2 separate regions of the Homo sapiens genome follow, and region 1 is linked to region 2. Evidence: promoter capture Hi-C in 16 types of primary human blood cells and fetal thymus (Javierre and others, 2016). All regions are on one chromosome and are shown on one strand. Each heading gives the region's core, a stretch centred on a gene start or on the middle of the fragment in contact. The rest is flanking DNA. Distances are from core to core; before and after follow the strand shown. Region 1 overlaps RNF8 (ring finger protein 8). Region 2 holds the start of MDGA1 (MAM domain containing glycosylphosphatidylinositol anchor 1).

The links. Contacts are between HindIII fragments. The CHiCAGO score rates a contact against its expected background, and 5 or more counts as called.
Region 1: a contact is called between a fragment that was not itself captured here and the fragment with the promoter of MDGA1 in region 2, in 6 of 17 cell types (total CD8 T cells, naive CD8 T cells, non-activated CD4 T cells and 3 more). The highest score is 6.7, in total CD8 T cells.

The regions. Positions count from the first base shown.
Region 1 is chr6:37,381,998-37,385,659 of GRCh38, forward strand. All of the region lies in intron 7 of RNF8 (ring finger protein 8), which reads left to right. Among named protein-coding and RNA genes, the nearest start is that of RNF8, 30 kb to the left of the region's middle. The HindIII fragment of the contact is 3,433 bases long and covers 294-3,662 here.
Region 2 is chr6:37,696,486-37,700,542 of GRCh38, forward strand. It overlaps MDGA1 (MAM domain containing glycosylphosphatidylinositol anchor 1), which reads right to left and starts at 1,398. Exons shown (of 17, transcript NM_153487.4): 1 at 260-1,398. The coding sequence starts at 326. RefSeq lists enhancers at 1-21, 22-751 and silencers at 294-453, 484-773, 954-1,013, 1,074-1,203, 1,264-1,333 and 3 more. The HindIII fragment of the contact is 24,309 bases long and covers 1-4,057 here.

The sequences.
Region 1 (3,662 bases), core at 760-3,259, 310 kb before region 2:
CTAAATTTAAGCCCCCACAGATTTTCACTTCCAAGAGCTACTTGATCTGACAGAATCCCATTGTTCTTCCTTTTCACCTCCCATCACTCCATAAGCATTTACAGGAATACTACACTAGGCATCAGGAGAAAAAGTTAAATAAGACATTATCTCAGCCCTTACGGCACAAACAGTCTGGCGGAGGAGATAGAAAGGCAAGTAGATAGTGTGATGAGTTCCTTATCAGGGTGCTATGAAACTTCAAAGGAAGGGACACACCTGATTTGGCCTGGGGAGGTGCAGGTATGGGAAAAAGCTTCATCAAGGAAATGACATTTGAATGAGCCTTAAAGGTTCCCTAGGAGGTTAGCTTTCTAAGGAGAGGCAGTAGCACAAGCAAAACACAGAGGCATGAGAAGCAGTGACCTGTCCTGCCCCAGTTCCCAGTGTGGCCCACACAAGACATAATATTCACATGATGTCAAGGCTTAGAAAGTATCTACGGAGGCTTTGTGAATTTTTTTTTCTTCCCTCTTTCCCTTTTTGAGAGGAGCAGTGATCTGGGAATCCAGATTTGGCCAAGATCAGCTGAGTCGGGGGACGGGGTTGGGGGGTGGACCTAGGGACACCCATGGGCTTTCTTCGCCCAGTCTACCACCTAAGTTCCTTCCCTGCAATCTAAGCATGGCAAATGGCTTCACAAAACATCAGGGAAAGAAAAGGCTGGGCACGGTGGCTCATGCCTGTAATCCCAGCACTTTGGGAGGCCAAGATGGGCAGATCACGAAGTCAGGAGTTCGAGACCAGCCTGGCCAACATGGTGAAAGCCCGTCTCTACTAAAAATACAAAAATTAGCCGGGCGTGGTGGCGCACACCAGTAGTCGCAGCTACTCAGGAGGCTGAGGCAAGAGAATCGTTTGAACCTGCAGAGGTTGCAGTGAGCCAAGATCGCACCACTGCACTCCAGCCTGGATGACAGAGCGGGACTCTGTCTCAAAAAAAAAAAAAAAAGGAAAGAAGGGCCCTGGGCCCTGTGTCCTAAGTTTACGTCTGACTCCTATTACACAGAGTTAATTCTGCAGAGTAATAACAGATCCCCCTTTTCTCTCCAAAGGCTAAAGAGGGTGTCTCTCACTTTTTTGGTAACACTAGGGGGCTACACAGTAAAATGAGTTAGCTTCCCTGTTACATGCATTGGCTGGGAGCACTTCTGGCACCCATCTTGGTTTCTGTAGTTATCACACTGAATGCAGCTTTGAAGTTTTCTCTAGAGACAGACAGGTTTTCTGAGACCTGATTTAGGGAAAGACATGCCAGAGCTATCAACAGCTTCACTGGGTTTAGAGAAAATTCTCAGTTTAAATACCAACCTTCCTTCCATATTCCAAGGCCAATTGAAAGCTGGTTTAATCCCTGTTGCATGGGAATTTTTAAAAAGGACCAAATTTAGGATCTGGAAACTAGGATTGGCAAGCCTGTAATTGTCAGAGTCCCATCACTGCAGGCCCTGGAGCAGGAATTGCTCTTATAAATTCAGAGGAGACCTGCCTGCCTGTGGCCACAGGGTGTTGCCCATGCAGACATGCCTGTATTCTGATTTCACCAAGAACAGCCTCACTTCTAGGCCTCCTGGGCTGGTTATTGAAGTTTCATATGTTAGTGGGAGGAGTAGAGTCTCATGACTGATTAGCCATTGATCTCTTGTGTGAGACCAGAGGAGAGGAAGAGGATGGGAGTGTTAGGATGCTGGGTCCTGAGTTGGAGATGGATGCTCTGGAGCTAGGACAGATAACAGACATTCAGTAAGTCTTGTATCATGAGTCACTGTGGCTCTCTGGGATATTGACATGAGATTTTTTCTGAATGGAAAAGTTTTTTTGAAATCCCCTATAGAGTATCTCCCTCTGGAGCTGGTGAGGTGAGAGAGCAGTCTTCTGTCAGCTCCTCCCCTCCCGTTTCTTCTGTTCTCATTCGATGTTAGTTGGTTGACAAGAGTGTTAAAACTCTTCTGTTTTGCTTTTCCTAGCGGTTTCTTTGGGTTGTACTCAGAAAAAAAACAAGCAATGTAGAAATAAAATCTCCTTGGTCCTTTAGAACAGTGATTTTCAACCAAGGGGCTTTTTCAAACTACATTCCTTAGCTCCCTTGCTACTATTTTTTTTTTTTTTTTTTTGAGATGGTGTCTTGCTTTGTTGCCCAGGCTGAAAGGCTGAAGTTTAATGGCGCAATTTTGGCTCACTGCAACCTCCCCCTCCCGGGTTTAAGTGATTCTCCTCCCTCAGCCTCCTGGGTAGCTAGGATTACAGGTGCATGCCACCACGCCCAGCTCATGTTTGCATTTTTAGTAGAGACGGGGTTTTACTGTGTTGGCCAGGCTGGTCTCCCAACTCCTGACCTCAGGTGATGTACCCCGCTCCGCCCCCCAAAGTGCTGGGATTACAGGCATGAGCCACTGCGCCTGGCCCCTTGCTGCTGTAATAGTGAATTGTGGCTACTAGTGAGAGTGTGCCATGGCCTTCACGTGTGCTGAGGTGGGGAGAGGCATTTGTGAACTATTGTGTGAATCTGTGACACAAAGACCCCTCCAGAGGTTGGGGGTGTCTGGGGAGATGGATCCAGGTCAGACCACATGGCCTGTATCTCTTGCCAGCTTCTTATAGGCTAAGTAGAGGGTGGACCTAACACAGGGCAGGAGAAACTGGCAAAGCCCAGGCTCTGAAGAGTATCCATCAGCCCACCTGTAAGGCTTTCCCTGATATTGCCCATCCTCCTTTGCTGAAAGACAGCCTTTTAAAGGGATGTTTGAAGGAGTGGCAGCAGTAATCCTCTCTCTTCCAGAGAGAATACTTATTAGCAGGTAGTTGTAACCTACTCAGTCCTGTCCCTGGAGAATCAGGGTCATTTGCAGGAAGTTAGCATTTCTGCCTGCCTTGTATAAGACAGTGTTTGTCTAAGGGAAAATGGATCTTGGCAAGGTCAGGATGAGGCGGGAGTGTCCACATGCTTGTACTCAGATAGTATATAACACTGTATTCTTAAGATTTTTTTTTTTTGAGATGGCGTTTCGCTCTTGTTGCCCAGGCTGGAGTGCAATGGCGCGATCTCGGCTTACCACAACCTCCGCCTCCCGGGTTCAAGCAATTCTTCTGCCTCACCCTCCCAAGTAGCTGGGATTACAAGCATGTGCCATCATGCCCGGCTAATTTTGTATTTTTAGTAGAGATGGGGTTTCTCCATGTTGGTCAGGCTGGTCTTGAACTCCCGACCTCAGGTGATCCGCCCACCTCTGCCTCCCAAAGTGCTGGGATTACAGGCGTGAGCCACCGCGCCTGGCTCTTAAGATTTTTTTACTTTAAACAATGTATGCAGGGCGGGTGCTGTGGCTCACGGCTGTAATCCCAGCACTTTGGGAGGCTGAGGGGGCGTGGATCATGAGGTCAGGAGTTTGAGACCAGCCTGACCAACATGGTGAAACCCCATCTCTACTAAAAATACAAAAATTAGCCGGGCGTGGTGGTGCACACCTGTAATCCCAGCTACTCAGGAGGCTGAGGCAGGAGTATTGCTTGAACCTGGGAGGCTGAGGTTGCAGTGAGCCGAGATCATGCCACTGCACTCCAGCCTGGGCAGAGTGAGACTTCGTCTCAAAAAAACGAAAAAGAAGAAGAAAAGAAAAAGTATG
Region 2 (4,057 bases), core at 148-2,647:
CATTCCCACCTCTAGCAGGGTGTGGGAAAGTGGGTGCCTCCTCCTGACATCCCGGCTTCCCACCAGACCCTACGACCGGCCCCTGTGTTCCGAAGCAGCTAGCTCGGTCTCCACGCGCCCTGGAGAGGGCGGGGACGCGGGCATCCACTCCAGAGTCCGAGTCGAGGTCTCCACCAAACCCCGGCAGCGCGCACTTTGCGCCTCTTGCAAAGTTTCCGCGCGAGGTTAAGCCAAGGTGGAGCGGGACGCGGGCTCTTACCGTAGACTCCTTGTCCCCGGCAGTGGAAGGGGATCAGCGCCAGAAGTAGAAGGCAGGTCACCTCCATCTTCACGGCCGGTGCTTCATCCCCGCGAGGCGGCGCAGCCCGAGAGGCGGCGGGGGGCGCATTCGCCGGGGCCCCGCGACGCCCCTATGTCCCCCCCTTTCCCTGAGAGGTGAGAGAGAGAGCGGCGACGAAGACCAGGAGACTGAAGAGGCGGAGGTGGCGGCGACCCGTGTTTCTCCTCCGGCGGGGCCGCTGCCCGCGTGGGGACGCAGGGGGCGCTGGCCCAGCCCCGGGTGCCTCGGCGCGCCCGGCACAGCAGCCAGCGCCCCGACCCGAGGAGCCCGGCCGCCGAGCCGCCCCGGGTACCCAGGGCCGTCCGCGCGGGATGCTAGGCGCCGGGGACCTCTCGGCGGCGGAGGCGGCGCTTCGATCCAACAGGCCACGGACGACTGACAAACTTGTCGTTTCCCCGCACTGGGGCCGCCCCTCAGCGGAGCGGAGTCGGGGAGGCCGGGGCTCCGCTCGAGTTAATCAATCTGCTGTTTCCAGTCCTGCGGCCGCTGCCGTGGGCTCAGCGGCCCGACTCCAGGGGGCCGGGCTGAAAGCACTCGCGGCGGCGAAGCAGCCCCGGGCCCGGCCCTCCTGATCCGGGGAGCAGCGCGGGCTGGGTTCGGCCGAGGGACGAGCGCCGCGGGTCCCCGGGTCCGTGAAGTTAGCCGAGCCGCCGATAAACCCGGGGGAAGAATAGCAGCCCGGCGCCCCGCGGGAATCTGGAGAGCAATTCCAGGCAAGAAGGGCCCCAGAAAACGGGGAAAGGAGGAAAGTTTGAGTCTTTTGAAAAATATTCGCGCTCTCGCCCAGGCCGGGGCTGCGGCGCGGGCGCCGCTCGCCGCCTCCGCTCGCCGCGCTCCTCTCCCGCCGTCTGGCCGCGGCCGTAGCCCTCCCGGGCTCCGAGCTCTCGGGAGAGCGGGGCTACGCCGCGCCCCAAGTTGGTCGTCCCCGCCCCCGCCCGGCGGCCTTGGCCTGCGGGGGCCCAGAGCGGGCGGGGCCGGGCCGGGCTCCGGGGCGCGGCGGCCGCTCGGCTCCGGGCCGCGGGAGCGCTCCGCTCGCTCAGCAACTTGGGCTTTGCTGTGCTGCTTTTTCGCCCCTCCGAGCTTTTCATTCCGCGCTCCTCCCGCCTCCCTCCCTCTCTTCCTCCTCCCTCCTCCTCGCGTCTCCTCGTTCGGTCTCTCGCTCTCCCACCCGTTGTCGCTCGCTCTCCTGTTTGATTCCCCTCCAGTTAAAAAAAGGAGCCAATTAAAGGCAGCCCAGCTCGCCTGGCCCAGCCTCTGTCCAATTTCCTCGCCTCCCCCAGGACCAATTAGAGAAAACAAAACAGGGCTGGGGGAAGCTGACTGCCTGCCTTTCTCTTTCTCTTTCTCTTTCTCTTTCTCTCTCTCTCTCTCTCTCTCTCTCTCTCTCTCTCTCTCTCTCTCTCTCTTTCTCTCTCTCTCCTCTCTCTCTCTTCTCTCTCTCCTCTCTCTCTCCCTCTCGCTCTCTCTCCCTTCCTCTCCTCTCCTCTCTTTCCCTTTCTCCTCTCCCTCTCTCTCTCTTCCTCTCTCCGCCCCCTAACATTCCCCCCCAACCCCGCCCAGCAGGAAAATGTCAGAAAGCAGAAATGGATCCATCTATCCCGAGGACAGTGGCGGAGGGACCTGGGTTTCGGCGGGGGCTCTGCAGCCGCGCGCTCGCACACTCGCTGTTCTCCAGCCTTGCACACCCAGACTAGCTGGCCGAGCCGGGTGCACCGTTGCCAGCAGCCCGCGGGGCAAACACGGCCGCTCGCTTCGGAGACCCATGCCCGCAGGGCACTGCACACTTCGTAAATGTTTTGCACTTTGGGGAGGCGGGACTGAAGCGGGGGTCCTAGGGAAAGGCCGGGCGCCTGCGGTTCCTGGGGTCCTGCAGCCGCGCGAGACGGGCCGCGGCTGTGGGTCTGCAAGGCTGTCTGCCCGGCTCGAGAGGCCCCCGCCCCTTTCCAGGCGTCTGGTGCTGGGGCCGGGCCGGAGCAGCTGGCGGAGAGGTCGCGCTGAGAGCTCCTGCCCTTGCCGCGGCCCACAGGTTGCCAACAGGTTTGCTCGCACGACCCCTCCGCCAGAGCTTCCCTAAGTCACCCCACATTTTCCTCGGCTAGCCACTCTTCCCATCTTGCCTCCCCTCGGGACCTCAGGCGCCCCCAAGCGCCCCGGGGGCACACCTCCTTCCGGCTGCCGAACCCGAGCCCCGCTCCAGCGGCGGGAGTCCGGCACTCGGGTCTCAGCCGCCTCGAAGGGGCCCTCGCGGAGCAGGAGTGCGGAGAACGCTCCTCCCAAACGCCCGCGGGGAGGGGCGTAGGCTGGCAAGCGAGGCTGGTGGCCTCCCCCGCGCCTCCGATCCCGCCCCGCGCCCAACCCGGGTCCTGCTAATCTCACCTGCTCCACCTGTCGCCGTTATTTATCTCAGCGTGTGCGCAAGAATTGTTTTAGGTCGGCCCGTGGGAGCGCAGACAATCGCAGCAGCTAACAAGCGGGGAGACTACGAACCCCCCCTCCCTTCGCCCCCTGGAACTGCTCAATATCTTGATGGTGGTTCCACGGCTCTATGCATTTGTCAAAACTCAAAGATCTCCACACTCCAAAAAGGTTAGTCTGCATATAAATTGAAACATAAATTTTTTTAAAATAATAATAATGAACCGTCCCTTCCCCAGGCCCATTTCCTGCTGGGTCTCTCCTCCCTTGACTCTCCAGGGCTTAAGCCCCACCGGAGCGCGCGCTCCTGACTGCTGGAAGAGGAGCGGGAGGTGTCGGGAAGTGCCTGGTGGCATGGGGGGGTTCCACCTTCCTTTCTCAGCCCCCTTTCTGTCCATCTCAGGAAGCCCGAGAACATCCGAAGATTCCTATTCTCTAGCCCACCTCCACTCGTTTGCGCCTCCCTTGTGCCCTCTTCCGTCTTTTCTCTCCTTTCTACCCCGTGGGTCCAAGGCTGATAGGAAGTCCAGACTCAGTGCGGTGCTCCCAGCAGATGCCAGCTGCAGACATGTTCAGTGAATTCACGAATGATGCCCATCATGGCCAGATATCACAGACCTGGGATACCCTCAGGGTAGCCATCCTTTCACTCCCCAGCCCCGGACTGTTACCTCAAAGGCAAAAAATTCATTTTCTGTCCCACAGAGATACACAGCCACCATGCCTCTTCCCGCCTCCCCCATCCAGTCAGAAAAGGAAGTGGTGCCAATTGAGGGAGTGATGAGGGATAGCTTCTTCTATTGTCATCCTCTTCCCATTATTAGAGGGTTCCTGGAAGTCTCTACCCCTTCCAGGAAGCTCTCAGGGAGTGATCACAGCGACTGTGGCTCTTCCTGGCTTTGCCCATTCTGAGCTGAATGTGTACTTCTCCATGTCGTGCGAAACTGCGCTCTGATTTTCCAATTAGCTGTTCCAACACCAAACAGCAGTCAATTGCTCCTCTTTGGCTTTGGGGTGAGTTACTGGGGACAGAGAACTGCACTGACTCAGCTGACATTCTCTTGACTTTGCCCTCTCTAAACTCACACACTAGCCTGGAGGAGAAAGAAGGTTCATGATGGCGGGGTGGGGGGAACAGAGGACCAAGTTAGCCAGGCTGGGATTGAACATTTGCTGTAGCTAATCCACTTGTGAATACTCTGCAGCTAATTGTATGCAGTGTAAATACCTTGACAGCCTGTTTGTGTGTGTCTGTAAATTCAGCTGTCTCCTCCCCCAAGTGTGCCCTGCCTGCTGCCTCAA